Regions from separate parts of the Homo sapiens genome. Here regions 1, 2, 4, 5, 6 and 7 are each linked to region 3. The links are contacts of gene promoters, found by promoter capture Hi-C in blood cells and fetal thymus (Javierre and others, 2016). All regions are on one chromosome and are shown on one strand. Each heading gives the region's core, a stretch centred on a gene start or on the middle of the fragment in contact. The rest is flanking DNA. Distances are from core to core; before and after follow the strand shown.

Evidence for each region. The method cuts DNA at HindIII sites, captures the fragments that hold promoters and counts their contacts. A CHiCAGO score of 5 or more calls a contact.
Region 1: a contact is called between a fragment that was not itself captured here and the fragment with the promoter of IFFO1 in region 3, in 16 of 17 cell types (activated CD4 T cells, total CD8 T cells, naive CD4 T cells and 13 more). The highest score is 14.1, in activated CD4 T cells.
Region 2: a fragment that was not itself captured here is called in contact with the fragment with the promoter of IFFO1 in region 3 in 14 of 17 cell types (activated CD4 T cells, total CD4 T cells, naive CD8 T cells and 11 more); the score reaches 25.2 in activated CD4 T cells.
Region 4: a fragment that was not itself captured here is called in contact with the fragment with the promoter of IFFO1 in region 3 in 11 of 17 cell types (non-activated CD4 T cells, naive CD8 T cells, activated CD4 T cells and 8 more); the score reaches 13.6 in non-activated CD4 T cells.
Region 5: a contact is called between a fragment that was not itself captured here and the fragment with the promoter of IFFO1 in region 3, in 9 of 17 cell types (erythroblasts, total CD4 T cells, monocytes and 6 more). The highest score is 8.0, in erythroblasts.
Region 6: a contact is called between a fragment that was not itself captured here and the fragment with the promoter of IFFO1 in region 3, in 6 of 17 cell types (non-activated CD4 T cells, activated CD4 T cells, naive CD8 T cells and 3 more). The highest score is 7.5, in non-activated CD4 T cells.
Region 7: a fragment that was not itself captured here is called in contact with the fragment with the promoter of IFFO1 in region 3 in 5 of 17 cell types (activated CD4 T cells, non-activated CD4 T cells, total CD4 T cells and 2 more); the score reaches 8.4 in activated CD4 T cells.

Annotation. Positions count from the first base shown.
Region 1 is chr12:6,413,959-6,416,658 of GRCh38, forward strand. No RefSeq gene overlaps it. Among named protein-coding and RNA genes, the nearest start is that of CD27, 30 kb to the right of the region's middle. The HindIII fragment of the contact is 2,514 bases long and covers 124-2,637 here.
Region 2 is chr12:6,795,066-6,797,765 of GRCh38, forward strand. The region is part of intron 1 of CD4 (CD4 molecule); the gene reads left to right. Among named protein-coding and RNA genes, the nearest start is that of CD4, 6.9 kb to the left of the region's middle. The HindIII fragment of the contact is 231 bases long and covers 1,308-1,538 here.
Region 3 is chr12:6,554,739-6,557,438 of GRCh38, forward strand. IFFO1 (intermediate filament family orphan 1) reads right to left here and starts at 1,304. Exons shown (of 10, transcript NM_001193457.2): 1 at 519-1,304. The coding sequence starts at 1,291. It overlaps NOP2 (NOP2 nucleolar protein), which reads right to left. Exons shown (of 16, transcript NM_001258308.2): 16 at 2,133-2,700. The coding sequence ends at 2,255. RefSeq lists an enhancer at 1-281 and silencers at 742-921, 1,032-1,271, 1,322-1,481. The HindIII fragment of the contact is 7,963 bases long and covers 1-2,677 here.
Region 4 is chr12:6,312,561-6,315,260 of GRCh38, forward strand. It overlaps PLEKHG6 (pleckstrin homology and RhoGEF domain containing G6), which reads left to right. Exons shown (of 16, transcript NM_001384598.1): 3 at 1,069-1,224; 4 at 2,445-2,609. Among named protein-coding and RNA genes, the nearest start is that of PLEKHG6, 3.2 kb to the left of the region's middle. RefSeq lists an enhancer at 278-587. The HindIII fragment of the contact is 4,394 bases long and covers 1-2,700 here.
Region 5 is chr12:6,716,026-6,718,725 of GRCh38, forward strand. No RefSeq gene overlaps it. Among named protein-coding and RNA genes, the nearest start is that of COPS7A, 6.7 kb to the right of the region's middle. The HindIII fragment of the contact is 9,962 bases long and covers 1-2,700 here.
Region 6 is chr12:6,735,256-6,737,955 of GRCh38, forward strand. No RefSeq gene overlaps it. Among named protein-coding and RNA genes, the nearest start is that of COPS7A, 13 kb to the left of the region's middle. The HindIII fragment of the contact is 5,757 bases long and covers 1-2,700 here.
Region 7 is chr12:6,382,275-6,384,974 of GRCh38, forward strand. LTBR (lymphotoxin beta receptor) reads left to right here and starts at 1,888. Exons shown (of 10, transcript NM_002342.3): 1 at 1,888-2,180; 2 at 2,314-2,410. The coding sequence starts at 2,085. RefSeq lists an enhancer at 941-1,806. The HindIII fragment of the contact is 3,962 bases long and covers 1-2,700 here.

The DNA.
Region 1 (2,700 bases), core at 131-2,630, 140 kb before region 3:
GGTCCTCTCCTTTTAATTTCTATGGGCTCTGTGGTGATGTCCCCTCTTTCACTTCTGACATTAGTAATTTCTGTCTTGATTTTTTTCTTGGTTAGTCTCACTAGAGGCTTACCAATTTTATTAAGCTTTTCAAAGAACCAGTTGTTGGTTTTGTTGATTTTCTCTACTCATTTCCTGTTCTCAATTTTATTGCTTTCTGTTCTAATCGTTATATTTCTTCTCTTCTGCTTGCTTTGGATTTAGTTTACTCTTTTTTTTCTAGTTTCTAAGGTAGTTGATTGTATAATAAATCTTTCTTCTTTCCTACTATAATGCATGCAATGCTATAAATTTCCCTCTAAGCACTACTTTCGCTGTATCCCACAAATTTTGATAAGTTGTGTTTTCATTTTCATTAGTTCAAAATATTTTAAAATTTCTCTTGCGATTTCTTCTTTGACCCACGGGTTGTTTGAATCACATTGTTTAATTTCTAAGTATTTTGAGATTTTTCAGCTATCTTTCTGTTATTGATTTCTACTTTAATTCATTGTAGTTTGAGAGCAGGCATTGCATAATTTCTACTCTTTTAAATTTGTTAAGGTGTGCTTTATGGTCCACAGTGTGGTCTATCTTGGTGAATGTTCCATGTGACTGTAAGAAGAATGCATTGCTGAGTGAAGCAGTCTACAGATGTTCATTATATCCAGTTATTTATGGTGTTGCTGATTTCAACTACATCCTTAATGATTTTCTGCCTGCTGGATCTGTCCATTTCTGGAAGAAGGATGTTGAAGTCTCCATCTCTAATAGTGGATTCATCATTTCTCCTTGCAATTGTAACAATTTTTGCCTCATGTATTTTTGATGCTCTGTTATTAGGTGCAACACAGCAAGGATTATGTCTTCTTGCAGAATTGACCCCCTTATCATTATGTAATGCCCCTCTTTCTGCCTGATAATTTTGCTTACTCTGAAGTTTGCTCCATCTGAAACTAATGCCCCTCTTTCTGCCTGATAATTTTGCTTACTCTGAAATTTGCTCCATCTGAAATTAATATAGCTACGCCCACTGTTGTTTTTTTTTCCTTTTTTTTTTTTTTCAAGATGGAGTCTTGCTCTGTCTCCCAGAGCTGGAGTGCAATGGCGCAATCTCAGCTCACTGCAACCTCTGCCTCCCGGATTCAAGTAATTCTCCTGCCTCAGCCTCCCAAGAAGCTGGGATTACAGGCACACGCCACCAGCCCTGGCTAATTTTTGTATTTTTAGCAGAGATGGGGTTTCACCATGTTGGGCAGGCTGGTCTCGAACTCCTGACCTCATGATCCACCCGCCTCAGCCTCCCAAAGTGTTGGGATTACAGATGTGAGCCACTGCACCCAGCCCCACTATGTTTTAATTAATGCTAACTATATCTTTCTCCATCCACTCACTTTTGGTCTGTATGTGCCTTTATATTTAAAATGGGTTTATTGTAGACAACATATAGTTGGGGCTTTTTAAAAATTCATTCTGACAGTCTCTGTCTTTTAATTGATGCATTCAGACCCCACTGACATTCGAGGTGATTATTGACATAGTTGGATTCATACCTATCATATTTGTTACTGTTTTCTCATTGTTGCTCTTGTTTGTTCCTACTTTTATCTTCCGCTCTTTTTCTGGCTTTTGTAATTTTAAGTGAGCATTTGTATTATTCCATTTTCTCTCCTTGCTCTTAGCATATCAGCTATACTTGTTTTTTTTCCATTTCTTTTATTTTAGTGATTGCTCTGGAGTTTACAATATACAGTTAAAACTAATCCAAGTCTGCTTTCAAATAACACCATACTACTTCACATGTAGTGCAAGTACCTTATAATAACAAAATAATCCTAATTACTTCCCCCATCCTTTGTATTACTACCATCATTCATTTTACTTATGTGTAACATATATATATATGACCAAATACACGATGCTATTATTATTTTGAACAAACTATTGCCTGTTAGATCAATTAAGATCAAGAAAGGCCGGGTGCAGTGGCTCACTCCTGTAATCCCAGCACTTTGGGAGGTCGAGGCGAGTGAATCATTTGAGGTCAGGAGTTAAAGACCAGCCTGGCCAACATGGTGAAACCCTGTCTCTACTAAAAATTAAAAAAAAAAAAAAAATTGGCCAGGCATGGTGGTTCACACCTGTAATCATAGCACTTTGGGAGGCCAAGGCAGGCAGACTGCCTGAGCTCAGGCATTCAAGACCAGCCTGGGCAACATGGCGAAACCCCGTCTTTACTAAAAATACAAAAAATTAGCTGGGTGTGGTGGTGCACACCTGTAATTCCAGCTACTTGGGAGGCTGAGAGGGGAGAATCACTTGAACCTGGGAGGCAGAGGTTGTGCTGAGCCAAGATCGTGCCACTGCACTCCAGCCTGGACAGCACAGAGAGACTCTGTCTCAAAAACATAAAAAATAAAAATAAAAATAAAATTAGAGAGTCCAGAAAATTAAAACGAGAGAGTCCAGAAAATTCTCACAGCACTAAAGTCTTATAGGGAAATCAGTTCTTTCCTTCATCCTTCTAAGAGATTCACTCATAGGTTCACTAAGCACCTGCTGGCATCAGGTGCCATGCTAGGGACAGGAATGTCTGCGACATGATTCCTACCTTCAAGAAGCTTGTAGACTATTGAAACAAACAAACATTGATACAATGTGTAACAGCATATGAAGCACAAG
Region 2 (2,700 bases), core at 173-2,672, 240 kb after region 3:
GTGAGCCACTGTGTCTGTCCCTAAATGTCTGTCTCTATCTATCTATCTATCTATCTATCTATCTATCTATCTAATCTATCTTTCTGTCTAACCTAATCTATTTTATCTATCTTATTCATCATCTATCTAATCTGTCTGTATGTTTATCTAATCTATTTACCTAATCTATCAATCTATCATCTAATCTATCTAATCTGTCTATCTAATCTATTTTATCTATCTATCTATCTGTCCATCCATCTATCTACCTACCTGTCTATCTCAAGCACCTACCACGTATTAAGCCCTGGCTACCTCCTCTTCCAGGCAGATGGAGTAACTGGAGGCAGCTAACAAAGATGGAGTCACTTTTCTTATCTTCTCCTAAACCACCGTAAGAGGACCAAGCCCCCACACCTTCTGAGTGCCCCATTCCTCTCCACAGATTGTGTCTTAGTGCCCAGCAGGAAACACAGTCCACCTCCCATGGTTCAAGAGATTGTAGAAAGGGGGTTATTCACATAGGTTAAGGGAATCAATCAATTTGAAGCACAGACACTATTAACAGCAGGAAGAGTCCTGAAGAAGTGAAAATGGTGTTTCTGGAACCCAGAGAGTGCTTGCACTCTGGATAAGGGGCCACCCCACAGAAGCTGTGGAGGGGCAGGGCTGCAGGTGAGGATGAACACACAGCTATTGACAGAAAATATGCCCAGGGCAGGGATAGAGTAGGAAAAATATCCCAGCTTCTTTCCCCCACCCTTCCATCTCATCTCTGAAAGGCACTTCCCACTGGCCAGCCCCGACTGGTGCTGGAGGGCAAGAGAGCCTATGAGCCATGTGTGGCTGTCAGCCCCTTGGTGGAGAGCCACAGACAGGATGGAGAGTGGCTGGCAGGGCCCCGTGGGGATGAACAGCTTGGATTGGGGCGACTGGGCTTCATCCAGGCTGGGCTGGATGTGTGCATACATTTCAGTGACCCGTTTTAGAAACAGAATTAATATGGTGAATAGAGAAAGAAGAAATCAGTGACTTTCGCTCCTCCATACAATTCAATTTGGCTTAAGTTAGCCAAAGCCATACCAAGTCCTCTCTCTATGTCTCAGCTGCTGCCAGGCTTGTGGTGGCCACACAGCTGGCTAGACTGTCATCTCTGTCCTCAAGGGGCTCAAGCTAGAGGAGGAGAGTTGAGAAACCAAATCACTATACACAAAGTAGAAGGTGGAACACACCCAGGAGCATGTCAACGGGGTGCTGTGGGACTTCAGAGTAGGCAGATCGTCACCAAGCTTCAACGGCAAAGATGCCACTGGGGGAAAGAAGGACCAAGCTTGGAAGACAGAGTAAGTCTGGAGGCAAGATCTTGTCTCACCAGCAGGGGCCAGGTCCATGGTGACACCTTCCCCAGGCAGTCACCTCTCTGAGCCCACTTTATATCCTAGGCCTGGATTCAAAGACACTTGAGCCCTGCTCCAGCCTTCCTTTGAGGTGCTATCTTGGTGCCTTTCCTATAATCACTGCTCCAGTCCCATGTCATCTGGTCCCCAGTTACCACATCAAGCTTCCCGAAGCTCCACACAGACCATGCCACATCTTTACCAAAAAATCAGCAGTGGGTCCCCTCACCTCCAGGACAAAGCTCCAGCTCTTCGACCTGCCTGTCAATATTTGCAATCACTGCCTGCACAAATTAGCTGGGTGTTGTCATGAAAGGATCACTTGAGCCCAGGAGTTCCAGGCTGCAATGACCTATGATTGAACCACTGCACTCTGGCCTGGGTGACAGAGTGGATCTAAACTAAAAATAAAAAGATTTACAGTCAAGCCTCAAAGGCTTTTCCCATACCTTCTTCCACCATCACCTCCCTGAGCCCTCTCTTTCCTCCGAAGCCTCCTCGCACATCCCTACCACCTTTGCACACCTCAGAATGGGGACACCTCTCCCCTTTCCTCTCCATCTAACTTATGGTTTTCAAACTTGAGCGTGATCAGTTACCTGGAGATTTGTGAAAACCCAGATGACTAGACCCACCCCCAGTTTCTGATTCAGCAGGTCTGGGGTGGGGCCGAGGATCTGCATTTCTAACAAGTTCCCAGGTCATGTTGCCGCTGCTACTGATCCAGGACTTTGGGAATCGCTCCTCTAATCTACAGCTGTCCATTCCCCATGGTCCATTCAGAGCCTCTCTGCCCTGCCCCCACCACCCCCAGTCTCGCCTGTCTGCCAAGCGCACAGGAAACTCTCCTTCATCCAAACCCTGGACCAACGCCTTCTGCTTGGCCCACTCAGAGGCCTTGTAGGGTTGGTCTGATATTGGACAGAGAAATGGCCCTCTGCTCTTTCTCCCCTGACCTCTCTGAAGGGGGCCTGCCCCTCCACACCTGTGGGTATTTCTCGCAAGGTGGAGACAAGAGACTGAGAAAAGAAATAAGACACAGAGAAAGTATAGAGGAATAAAAGTGGGCCCAGGGGACCGGCGCTCAGCAAGTGAGGACCTGCACCGGTGCTGGTCTCTGAGTTCCCTCAGTATTTATTGATCACTATCTTTACTATCTCCGCGAGGGGAATGTGGTGGGGCTATAGGGTGAAGGTGAGGAGAGGGTCAGCAGAAAAACATATGAGCAAAGACTCTGTGTCATAAATAAGTTTAAGGAAAGGTGCTGTGCCTGGATGTGCTAGATTTATGTTTAACTTTACACAAACATCTCAGTGTAGTAAAG
Region 3 (2,700 bases), core at 54-2,553:
TTCCTATGAAACCACAGCAGGTACCTGGTTTCCATCAATATTCTTTGGGAAACCTTGGGGTGTGAAAGAATCACTCGTTGCAAGGTACAGCCCCTCCCTCACCAGCCCCTTCCAGTTTCACTCAATTTAGTCTCCCAAATTTACGCTATATCCTTGCCTCCTACTTTTGAAGTTTATATCCCTAACCTGCCCCAGGGCTGAGACCGGTAGGGCAGAGCCCCAGTCCCTTTCACACCGCACAAAACCCGCAGTTAAGCCTGGATGGCAGAGACAAGCCGGAAAAGTAGGAATCCCCCCGTGTTCCGCTCCCAGCGTCCTTCTTCCTGTCACGAGCAGGGCTTCTGCATTCTCTGCGGATTCTAGTCTCCCTGCATCCAATTGCTTCCAAGCTCCTCATTACACAGCACAAACTTTACTCTCATTCTTTTCACCCCTGATTCTTCGGAACCCACACCAACTCGCGGCCCGTTGTGAGTGGTATGACACAGAGAGACCTGTCCCCCTTTCCCAATCCCTACCTCCGCTTGTACTCGTCCCGCTCCCGCTTCACTTTGGCCAGCACGTTGTAGAGAGCGCGGATCTCGGGCGTGATGGTGTCGATCTGGACGCCCACCCCATCCGGGTGCACCCACGACAAGCCAGGCCCTTGCACCAGAGTGGGCTCCAGTCCCGGCCCGAGCCGGCGGGCGTGCGAGAACGACCAGATGGTGCCGGGCATGAAGCGGGCCGACGAGGAATAGGTGGTGGAGGTGGAGGTGGAGGACGACGAGAGGCTGGCCGCGGAGGGCGCGAGGGGGCCGGCCGGGGAGCGCGCGGGCGAGCCCAGCACGCGCGCCGAAGGGCTGCAGACAGCGGCCGGCCGGGCGCCCAGCTGCAGCCCCAGGGGCCGGATGGGGCTGACGAAGCCGGTCTGCACTGCCTGGTCGCGACGACCCAGGCCCCGCCGGCCCTGCTTACCCTCCTCCAGCGCTTGCTGCAGTTGCTTCTCCAACAGCCGGTTCCGGCGCTCCAGCTCATGCACCTTGGCCAGGAAGCAGCGGAACCGGAGGTTCAGGGTCTTGAGCACGTTGATGTTGGAGCCCAGGTCATTGCGGAGGGCCATGGCGGCAGGCGGGGCCGGGCCCGGCCCGGGCGGCGAGTAGGCAGCAGGGCCGGCCGGCGAGAGAGGCGCCGGGGGCAAGTCTCCTCCCCCGGCGAAGTGGTCGCCTCCCAGTGAGTCCCCCAGTGGCCCGGCCAGGCCCTGCTGCTCCTGCTGCAGGAGGAAGAGGTTGGGGCCGAATAACGGATTCATGGCTGCGCCTTCTGCTGGGAGATGCAGACCGGTGCAGGAGCAGGGATGGAAGGCGAGCCAGAAGAGCCAATGCGGCGCCGGCGGGACAGAGCCGACCAATCAGGCGGCTCGGCAGCGGGGCAGAGGTCAGGGGGCGGGCCGAGGGGAAGCCAATGACAGGCTCCAATTGGAGGCCGGACCCTGGACCTTTCCGGGTCTGAGGCCGAGCCCTGTGATGAGGGGAGCCACCGCCTGGACTCCAGCCGGGGTGGCGTAAAGCCCAGGACCTCCAGTACCCCATGGGTTCTGGTGGCAAGCCCATCTCCCCTACACGACTTTTTTTTTTTTTGAGACCGAGTCTCACTGTCGCCCGGGCTGGAGTGCAGTGGCGCGATCTTGGCTCACTGCAACCTCAGCCTCCCAGGTTCAAGCGATTCTCCTGCTTCAGTCTCCCGAGTAGCTGGGATTACAGGCACCCGCCACCACACCCGGCTGATTTTTTGTATTTTTAGTAGAGACGAGGTTTCGCCATGTTAGCCAGGCTGGTCTCGAACACCTGACCTCAGGTGATCCACCCGCCTTGGCCTCCCAGAAAGTGCTGGGATTACAGGCATGAGCTAGTGTGCCCCGCCTTCCCCTACACTTCTATTGCCCTCCTCTCCCCGGAGTTCAATCACCCCTAGCTCTGACTCCAGGGCTTTCCCTTCCTGGGAAAACCCAAGGATGCAGGAGCCTAAAACTGACCTTATTTCTCAGTAGCACCCAACCATTCCCTCTCCTCAGAAGATCCCAGTCCCACCTCCCATCTTTACCCTTAAAGCGGCAAAGGCAGCACCCAGTTCCCTCAAAAATACTCAGTGGCCAGAGGTTTTAAAATGTGTATTAAATTTCATGGGTATGCACAGTAGAGAAGGCATCCTCACAGAGGCAAGAGTTCCAACCTGGTGACAATGGCAGTGAGCCACCCGTCTAGTTTTCAACCATCTAAGATAGCAGCAGCTGGCTGTTGCCCCTGGACTGAGATTTCTTCCTCTTTGCTGGTGGGGGGCGGCTGGAACGGATGGGAGACACAGTGGGAGGCTGAGGCCCCTTGGGGGTATCATTCTGTTTCTGGAAGGCAGCTTTCTCAAAAGGCTGCTCTGGCAACTGCTGCTTCTCAACCCCCTTGGCCCTTCCAAGGGGCTGATGATGGTCCTTAGGTTTCAGGGTGGCCTGAGTCTTGGATGGGGATAACACAGCCGGTGTTTGTGTGTCTGTGCCCTTGGGAGGGGCATTCTGCCTGAGGAAAGCAACTTTCTTGGAGGACTGTAATTTAGGTGATCGTTGCTTTAGCTTCCCAGTCACCTTTGGCTCCCTGATCCCTTCGGCTTTTCCAGCTGGCTGACTGCTATCCTGGAAGCTGGAGGAAGCTTGGGTCTTTGTGACAGAAG
Region 4 (2,700 bases), core at 162-2,661, 240 kb before region 3:
AGCTGGGCAGGAGAGGCGGAGCCAGGAGAAGCCAGGCCCTCCGAGGAGTGCTGTTAGACAGGTCTCAGACAAAGAGCTGCGGGTAAGGTCATCAAACCCCAGAGCTGGCGCCTCCCAGGCTCCCGCCTCTGCTTGGCAGGAGTTTGAGGCCTTCCTGAGATCTGCCTCTCCCTGAGTCAGGATGAAGATGAGCAAAGGTTCAGGGTGTCCCTACTCCTCCAGTGGTGGGTAGGGACAGGAGGGTGCCTGCCTTGGCTCCACCCCTGGCTCCACCTGCCTGGCTCTCCTCCAGTCCTAACCAAGCAGAGGGGTGTGGAAGCCAGGTCTGTCCCTCAGCCTGCAGGTTTCCCCTCCACCTTGAGGACAGTTCTGCTTGTGGCTGGGACATCCCCTGCCTCAATGCACGATAATTTTGCCTTTGGAGATGGGACTTTCCTAGGCTGTGGGTGAGAAGGGAGACTAGAAAGTATGTGGGGTAATTCAGGCCACAGGCAAATGAAGGAATGTGACCAGGCCTGCCCTGGGAGGAGCTGTGTGGCTGTGGCTTCAGCCTTTCACACAGAAGGGCAGCCACTCCCAGCTGGATGGGATGCAGGCTGCACGCCCCTGGGGAGAAGGCTGCACATGTGAGTGCCCTCGTCCCCATGTGTGAGGGAGGCTGGTCATAGACAAGGAGAGTTACGAGAGACCAGAATGCTGTGTGCACCACGCCTTGTCCATGCACCCCCCATGGTACGGAGAGCAGGAGGCAGTGGGGGCACACACACCAGAGCCCAGGCATGTGTGTGCTGTGCACCTGCTCGGCAGGAGGCCCCACTTCTTCCCCAGGCCCACTCAGGGAGCCAGGCTGTCTTGCCTCTGCCCACTCAGCTTAGCCTTGCCGGCAGTGGCCGCTGTGACTCAGGGCAGGAGCAGTCCACACCAAACTGGTTTGCAGGGAGAAGTGAGCCAGCCCGACTTACCAGGGTGGGGGAACAACATCTAGAGCCAAGCCTGCCCCCCTACTACCTCTCTGGGGTTTCTGGGGAAAGGGAGGCACCCCCAGAACTTCCCCTGCTCCTCTCCCAGGATCCCAGTCGCCGACGCCTCCAGCAGTATGTCCCCTTTGCCAGGGGTTCTGGCCAGGCCCGAGGCCTGTCACCCATGAGACTGCGAGATCCAGAGCCCGAGAAGAGGCACGGGGGCCATGTGGGGGCTGGCCTGCTTCACTCCCCCAAACTCAAGGTAAGGGGGTCCCTCTCCTCCCATCCCCACACATACGGCCCCAATTGTGATGGCTCCGCAGATGACCAGCAAGCTCCGGGAGCTGAGAACACAGGTCCAGGAGGCTGCTGCCTGCCAGTCAGACATGGCTCTGCCTAGGACCTCTCAGGGATATATCTCTCTTTGGTCCATGCATGGCAACCAGGGACTTTGACTTGAGACACTTTGATTAAATGTGGATAAACGATTGATATTGAGCTTTCAGTTTTTGAAAACTACCAAGTCAAATTACCAAGTTGCTGAGAGTCAGGTATGCTCTCTCTATCCTCAGTGCCACATCATCCTTCACTGCCACTGTGAGCCTCACCTCTCCTCCCAAGCCACATCCAGATGGAGTGAGTGAGGGTCAGGAGTGTCTATTGCTCACATTCTTGGTACCAAAGAAACCTGTAAAATGGGCCGGGCGTGGTGGCTCACACCTGTAATCCCAGCACTTTGGGAGGCCAAGACGGGCGGATCACCTGAGGTCAGGAGTTCGAAACCAGCCTGGCCAACATGGTGAAACCCCGTCTCTGCTAAAAATGTAAAAAAAAATTAGCTGGGTGTCATGGCGGGCACCTGTAGTCCCAGCTATTAAGGAGGCTGAAGCAGGAGAATCGCTTGAACCCGGTAGGTGGAGGTTGCAGTGAGCCGAGATTGCGCCACTGCACTCCAGCCTGGGTGACAAGAGCAAAACTCTGTCTCAAAAGGAAAAAAAAAAGAAACCTGTAAAATGTAAGCCATGCTGCTTCATAAAAAATGCCATTTTATAGGCAAATGTCAAAGTGGTGCCTGAGACCACTGGTTCTCTAAGTCTTGTTCTGATTCACTTGAAGGTCCCTCTGAAGTGTCTGTTTCTGTCCCTCCCCCACCTCATTCTGATTCAGGAGACCCATGGAAGGCCTCTTTCCTGTCAGGGAGCCTAGATCAGACCCCTCTCCAGGGACCTTTCCACAGACCAGGGTGCCTCTTCACCCACATTCCAGCAATGCCTTTTTCCCTGGAATTCCAGCTGGGGCCGACCCCTGTTCTCTAGGCCTCCATGTCCCCACTCATACTCAGTGCTGCTTGCCATCTCCCATTCCAGACACAGACACACGCACACACTTTAACACACATGCACACACACACAGCCCTCCCGGGGCCCTGTGGCTGGGTGCCAAGGATGTGACCAGAGCTGATGCCCTTCTCGGCTCCCCCAGGAACTCACCAAGGCCCATGAGCTGGAGGTGAGGCTGCACACTTTCAGCATGTTTGGGATGCCCCGGCTGCCCCCTGAGGACCGGCGGCACTGGGAGATAGGAGAGGGTGGCGACAGTGGCCTGACCATCGAGAAGTCCTGGAGGGAGCTGGTGCCTGGGCACAAGGTGAGCCTGAAACTCACAAGGTGAGTCTGTCCCCACGGCGTGAATGCACACACAGATTCTGCTCTAGAGGAGGGAAAGGCCTTGGGAAGTG
Region 5 (2,700 bases), core at 166-2,665, 160 kb after region 3:
AGGTGTGGAGGGAGAGGCATGAGCGGGAACCGGGGCTGCGTGGGGCGCTTGCGGGCCAGCTGGAGTTCCGGGTGGGTGTGGGCTTGGTGCGCCCTGCACTCGGAGGAGCCGGCCAGCCCTGCCAGCCCCGGGCAATGGGGGACTTAGCACCCGGGCCAGTGGCTGCGGAGGGTGTACTGAGTCCCCCAGCAGTGCTAGCCCACCGGCGCTGCGCTCGATTTCTCGCCGGGCCTTAGCTGCCTTCCCGCGGGGCAGGGCTCGGGACCTGCAGCCCGCCATGCCTGAGCCTCCCACCCCCTCCATGGGCTCCTGTGCAGCCCGAGCCTCCCCGACGAGCGCCGCCCCCTGTCCACGGCGCCCAGTCCCATCGACCACCCAAGGGCTGAGGAATGCGAGCGCACAGCGCGGGACTGGCAGGCAGCTCCACCTGCAGTCTCGGTGCGGGATCCACTAGGTGAAGCCAGCTGGGCTCCTGAGTCTGGTGGGGACGTGGAGAGTCTTTATATCTAGCTCAGGGATTGTAAATACACCAATCAGCACCCTGTGTTTAGCTCAAGGTTTGTGAATGCACCAATCGACACTCTGTATCTAGCTGCTCTGGTGAGGACGTGAAGAACTTTTATGTCTAGCTCAGGGATTGTAAATACACCAATCGGCACTCTATCTAGCTCAAGGTTTGTAAACACACCAATCAGCACCCTGTGTTTAACTCAAGGTTTGTGAATGCACCAATCAACACTCTGTATCTAGCTGCTCTGGTGGGGCCTTGGAGAACCTGTGTGTGGAAACTCTGTATCTAACTAATCTGATGGGGACGTGGAGAACCTTTGTATCTAGCTCAGGGATTGTAAACGCACCAATCAGCGCCCTGACAAAACAGGCCACTCGGCTCTACCAATCAGCAGGATGTGGGTGGGGCCAGATAAGAGAATAAAAGCAGGCTGCCCCAGCCAGCATTAGTAACCTGCTCTAGTCTCCTTACACGGTGGGGAATCTTTGTTTTTTTACTTTTTGCGATAAATCTTGCTATTGCTCACTTTTTGAGTCCATGGTGCTTTTATGAGCTGGAATACTCTCCGGGAAGATCTGCAGCTTCGTTCCTGAGCCAGCGAGACCATGAACCCACCAGAAGGAAAAAACTCCAAAGGCATCTGAACATCAGAAGGGACAGACTCCAGAGACACCACCTTAAGAGCTATAACACTCACCACGAGGGTCTGCTACTTTACTCTTGAAGTCAGTGAGACCAAGAACCCACCAATTCTGGACACACCACCACACCTGGCTAATTTTTTTTTTTTTCTTTGAGACGGAGTTTTGCTCTTGTTGCCTAGGCTGGATTGCAATGGTGTGATCTCAGTTCACTGCAGCCTTGTCTTTCTGGGTTCAAGGAATTCTTCCTCAGTCTCCCAAGTAGCTGGATTACAGGTGTGTGCCACCATGCCAGGCTAAGTTTTTGTATTTTTAGTAGAGACAGGGTTTTGCCATGTTGGCCAGCCTGGTCTGGAACCCCTGACCTCAGGTGATCCACCCGTCTTGGCCTCCCAAAGTGTTGGGATTATAGGTGTGAGCCACCACGCCCAGCCATTTTTACGTTTTTAGTGGAGATAGGGGGGTTTCATAATATTGGTTAGGCTGGTCTCAAACTCTTGACCTCGTGATCAGGAGTGATCATGCACCACCATGCCTGGCTAATTTTATATTTTTAGTAGAGATGGAGTTTCAACATGCTGGTCAGGCTGGTCTCGAACTCCTGATGGGTGATCCCCCTGCCTTGGCCTCCCAAAGTGCTGGGATTACAAGTGTGAGCCACTGTGCTGGGCAATTTTCCTTTCATTCTTTTTCTTTCCTTTTTTTTTTTTTTTTTTTTTTTTTTTGAGACAGGGTCTTGCTGTGTTGCCCAGGCTGATCTTGAATTGCTAGCTTGAGTGGTCCTCCCACCTCAGCCTCCTGATTAGATGGGACTAAAATTTCCCTTTACATTATTGCCCTTTGCTGATTTTGTTATCAAGGTGATTCTGGCCCCATAGAATAAGTTAAGGGGTGCTCTCTCTTCCTATTTTCTGCAATAGTGTGTATAAAATTAATATGATCTGTACTTTGAAAGTTTGGTGCTACTTGCCTTGATGATGTCATTTTTTTAAAATAAAAAATGTTTTGGCAGGCCTCAGTGGTTCACGCCTCTAATCCCAGCACTTTGGAAGGCAGAGGCAGGTGGATCACCTGTCAGGAGTTCCAGACCAGCCTGACCAACATGTTGAAACCCTGTCTCTACTAAAAATACAAAATTAGCCAGGCATGGTGGTACATGCCTGTAATCCCAGCTAGGGAGGCTGAGGCAGGAGACTCACTTGAACCTGGGAGGCAGAGGTTGCAGTGAGCCGAGATCGTGCCCTTTTACTCCAGCCTGGCCAATAAGGGTGAAACTCCATCTCAAAAAAAAAAAAAAAAATTTCTGGCCAGGCATGGTGGCTCACACCTATAATCCCAGCACTTTGGGAGGCCGAGGTGGGTGGATCACCTGAGGTCAGGAGTTTGAGACTAGCCTGACCAACACAGCAAAACCCCGTCTCTACTAAAAATACAAAAATTAGCTGGGGGTGATGGTGGGTGCCTGTAATCCCAGCTACTGGGGGGGCTGAGGCAGGAGGATTGCTTCAACCTGGGAGGCGGAGGTTGCAGTGAGCCGAGATCGTGCCA
Region 6 (2,700 bases), core at 155-2,654, 180 kb after region 3:
TTATATATTACAAGTGTGATAAGTACTTTAAGAAGTATTGGGTGACACGAAAGCATTTAACTGGGATCTACATCTTGCTTGGGGTCAGAAAAGCCTCCAAGGACATGACCTTTAAACTGAAACTAGAAGCCCAAGTAGGAATTAGCCTGATGAAAGAGAGGGCGAGCATCTTGGATGGGAAGAATAGTGGGATAAAGGCCTGCAGGCAGAAAGGCTTCATTCTGTGACCCGCTGCCTGTCCCTCAATAGGAAATGCATAATTTGGGGAATGGGGCAAGATAGACAATCCTATACTTACTGTTCATTTATCAGTCAATTGGCAAATACATCTTGTTTTTTGTTTTATTTTGCTTTTGAGACCATGTCTTGCTCTGTCACCCAGGCTGGAGTACAGTGGCACGATCATATGGGAATGGAGAGGGAAGCCCCAGGGGCCCAAAAAATGTCAGAGAGACACGGGAGGAAAATCAAGAGAACAATCCCGTAAAAGTTTATGAACTCCTGGGCTAAGCTCTGAGCTGTGCAAGCGTAGATCTGTCCCTGAACAGCCTACCTAAGGCTTTGTGAACTGAATTACAGAATGGATCACTGTCCAGGTCTGACTGGCCACTGGGTGGCACCCGAGCCGGCCTGATCCAAATAGCACTGCAAACACTTTTAAAATAAAACCGACATTGAAACCACAGTGCCAAAAAGGCAGGTCAAAACTTGCTGCCTGAACCTGATTACCTGCTAAAACAAATTACCATTCAACATGTTCAACATGCTCCTTAAGATTTTAACAAGACCCAGAGCCTCAAACCATAATATTCAAAATATCCAGAGTATGATTTAAGGTGACTCAGCATACAAATAACTCTCCAGGGAAAAGACAGCCAACCCCAAGGAGGCAGAAGTGTTGGAATTTAAAGCAAATGCTGCAAGCAGTCTAACCATGCAGGAAGAAGAAAGGGAGAATGCTTTTGAAACAAATGTAAAGAAAGTCTTAGCAAAGAAATGGAAGATATAAAGAACCAAACAGAAAATAGCAATAACTAGGCCGGATGTGGTGGCTCACGCCTGTAATTCCAGCACTTTGGGAAGCTGAGCTGGACCATTCACCTGAGGTCAGGAGTTCGAGACTAGCCTGGCCAACATGGTGAAACCCCACCTTTACTAAAAATACAAAAATTAGCCAGGCGTGGTGGCAGGCACCTGTAATCTCAGCTACTTGGGAGGCTGAGGCAGGAGAATCGCTTCAACCTGGGAGGTGGAGGTTACAGTGAGCTGAGATTGTGCCATTGCACTCCCCCAGCCTGGGTGACAACAGCGAGACTCTGTCTCAAAAACAAAAACAAAAACAAAAACTTCCCAAACCTGGCAAAAGACAAAGACAGATTCAAAAAGTTTGGTGGATAGCAAACAAGATATACTCAAATCCATGTCCATAGCCAGCGTGGTGGCACATGCCTGTAGTCCGAGCTACTTGGAAGACTGAGGCAGGAGAATCACTTGAACCTGGGAGGTGGAAGTTGCAGTGAACCGAGATCAAGCCAACTGCACTCCAGCCTGAGTGATAGAGCTAGACTCTGTCTCAAAAAAAAAAAAAAAAATCCATATCTGGACACATCAGAATAAAATTGCCGAAGGTTAAAGACAAAGAAAAAAGTCCCACAAGCATTCAGAAAAACAGTGCTTTTCACACAGGATAAAAATGACTCAAATGACTGCACATTTTTCGTCAGAAACTATGAAAGTCAGGTGGAACTAGAATGATACTTTTAAGGGGCTTAAGGGAATTAACTCAAAATCCTATATCCAGTGAAAATATTGCTCAGGAATGAATGTGAAATAAAGATATTCTCAGGTGAAGGAAAATAAGAATTTGTCACCGGAAAACCCGCTGTAAAATCCTAAAGGAAGTTCTTTAGGCAGAAGAGAAATGACACCAAAGGAAACACGGAACATTAAGGATGAAGAGCAGCAGCAATGGTAAATATAATAGATTATTTTTCTCCTCTTAAGTTCTTTAAAATGTTTATGACAGCTGAAAGAAAATCATAAATTTGATGTTTGTCTCAAGAGGGAATTCTCTAAATATAATTTTAAAACAATTATAAATTCACCTAGAGCCATGCACCGCGGCTCACGCCTGTAATCCCAGCACTTTGGGAGGCTAAGGCGGGCGGAACACTTGAGGTCAGGAGTTGGAGACCAGCCTGGCCAACATGGTGAAACCCTGTCTCTACTAAAAACACAAAAATTAGCCGGGCGTGGTGGTGCATGCCTGTAATCCCAGCTACTTGGGAGGCTGAGGCAGGAGAACTGTTTGAACCTGGAGGTAGAGGTTGCAGTGAGCTGAGATCGCGCCATTGCACTCCAGCCTGGGCAAGAAGAGTGAAACTCCGTCTCAAGAAATAAATAAATTCACCTAGAAGGCTAGGTGTGGTGACTCACACCTATAATCTCAGCACTTTGGGAGGCTGAGATGGGCAGATCTCTTCAGCCTAGGAGTTCTAGACTAGCCTAGGCAACATGGTGAAACTTCGCCGCTATAAAAAATACAAAAAAAATTAGTGGGGCATGGTGGCCTGTGCCTGTAGTCCCAGCTACTTGGGAGGCTAAGGCAGGAGAATTGCTTGAGCCTGGGAGGTAGAGGTTGCAGTGAGCCAAGATTGTGCCATTGCATTCTAGTCTGGGCAACAGGAGTGAAACCCTGTC
Region 7 (2,700 bases), core at 95-2,594, 170 kb before region 3:
TTGAAGAGTGTGTGCGTTGGTGGGGGAGGGGGTATACAGAATAAATGAAACTGACAGTGAGTTGAAGCTGGGTAAGGAGTATATGGGAGACTCCCAATATTACTTTTTCTCTTTTGGTATATTATCTTGCATGTGGAATTTCCACAGTAAAAAGTAAAAAGAAGAGAGAGAAAAAAGGACCTAGGGTCGCTACACACACATTCCTTTACGCGTTTAAGAGCTCAGCAGGGACTCTCATCCCAGCCCCCAGCGCTAGGGCCCTGGAAGGCTCAGCAGCCCCGCGCAGTGCATGCTGTTCTGATACTTCTGCCCTTTCCAGCCATCTTTGGCCCATCTGTACGGTGAGCTGCCTGCACCAGGTGAGGGGAGAGAGCCTCACAGAGTGAAATGCCTACAGCCTAGGCAGGTCCTTTCCCCCTTTTGTGACCTCTCCTCCCCATGCACACTTCCCATCACCTGCACCTGTCCAGACATCAGACCTGAAGTTAGACAGACCAGTGTAAGGACGAGTGCTGAACAGAGTCCTTCAGGGAGGGGGATAGTGCCCAAGTGACCTATCTCAAGAGAGGTTAGCCCCTCATCCCAAGGGAGACATCCCTGAGCCACAAGGAGTTGGCAGGACTGCTGGAATGAGTTGGGACCTAGACATCAGGAGACCCAGATTGTAGCTGGCTCTGCGGTGGACTGGCTCTGTGATGTGGCCATCACTCATTTATTCCATAAATACCTATTGGGCACATGGTATGTGCCAGACTCTGCTAAGCATGGGGAACACAGACTTGAAGATTCAGCCTGGGCCATGGTGGCACTCACAGCCTGGTGGGAAGCAAACAAGACAGCCAGGTACAGAGGGCAGTCTTCACGGGGACTGTGCAACCTAGGGCAGAGGTTGCCTTCCAGAGCCTCAGTGAAGCCTCAAGGACAGGTGGGAGTTAGGAAGACGGAAACTTGGGGACCAGAGAACCACGTGTAAAAGGGGGCAGCTGCAAGTAACTCCACGGGTGGGTGGGGTGTTGGGTTGAGGGAGATGGGAGGATGAAACAGGGCAGGAACGAGACCAGGCCACCCTGGAATCCCGGTTCCCTTATGTATCACCCTTAGCCTCCCTCTCCATGCTTAAGGTGAGGGGGCTGGACTGCGTGGGCTCTCAGCTTTCTCCAGTTCTAAGGGGTTTGAAGGTTCATGGGCAAAGAAGCCAGAGCAGAGGGACTGAGTGCCCAGGTCCAGCCTGCTGGCCCCAGGACTCCCCTCCGCATATCCTCCCCCTCTCTTTGGGAGGGAGGTTCCCTGAGGACAGGGAGCAGGGCAAGCTGCACAGCTCTCAAGGGTCTCCTAGGTGACCTGTGCCCACTCCTGTGCGGATTGGGCTGGGTTGGTAGCGTGGGGGGCTGGCTGATTTGCTAGTCCCTTGTAATTTGTCTGAAAAACTCCCACAGTAGGGCAGGACAACGGGGGAGGAACCCGGGCATCTGCCAGCCGGTTCTCCTCGGTCTCAGAGCTGCTTCTGCGGCCTTGCAGTCCCCGCGCCCTGCCCTCTCCATGACTGCCCGTCCTGGGCCCCTCGCTTTCCAGATCCCGCACCCAGCTGTCCCTTGCGCTCTCTGGAACTCCCTCTGCTCTCCCTGCGAGGCTTGTCCAAGGGCTGACCCCGGGCCCGCCGCCCTTCCCTCGGCTGGGCCAGGGCTGTCCGCAGTCCGCTCTCCCGATCGGGCTTCCGAAGAAGGGAGGAGGCCGGTTCCGGCCCCGCGGCCCTCACGTGCTTTCCCGGCCGCCCCTCCCGCCCCGCATCGAGGCAGACAAGCCTGTTCCTCTTCCCTGGGCTGCGATTGCGACAGGCCGGCCTGGCTCCCAGCGCTCCCTGTCCCCGCCCCGCGGCCAGCTCGCTCCACTCCCACTTCCTGAGCTCCGCCATGGGAGCCCTGGAGGCCCGGCCTGGCCGCTCCCGGCCCTGGGGTGCACATCGGCCCTGAGTCCCGTCCCAGGCTCTGGGCTCGGGCAGCCGCCGCCACCGCTGCCCAGGACGTCGGGCCTCCTGCCTTCCTCCCAGGCCCCCACGTTGCTGGCCGCCTGGCCGAGTGGCCGCCATGCTCCTGCCTTGGGCCACCTCTGCCCCCGGCCTGGCCTGGGGGCCTCTGGTGCTGGGCCTCTTCGGGCTCCTGGCAGCATCGCAGCCCCAGGCGGTGAGGAAGGGGCCTGGTAGGAGTGGGCGAGGGTGGGCAAGAGGGATCTGGGCAGCCGTCGCTCCATTCCCTCTGCCCTCCCAAGCTGACCCCTGACTAATTCTTCTCTCCTCTTCTCCATCTCCCTTTGAAGGTGCCTCCATATGCGTCGGAGAACCAGACCTGCAGGGACCAGGAAAAGGAATACTATGAGCCCCAGCACCGCATCTGCTGCTCCCGCTGCCCGCCAGGTGAGAGGCAATGGCAGGACGAACCTGGGCCTCGGAAGTGGGTCACGGGGGCTCCAGCCCCCTCGCGGCCTCAGAGGGAAGGTGGGCACTGTCCCCCAGGAAAACTGGCTGCTGGAGACGAGCGTGGGAAACCCTGGACATCACGTGGAGGAGATGGGACTGGCCCTCCCCACTGGGCCTCCTCTTTCCTTACCTCACTGAGAGGGAGCCGGAGGGCCACTGGCAGGATGATGGGGGGCCAGAGAGACCGAGGGAAAGGCCAGGGTCACACTACAGGCAGCGGAGGTGAG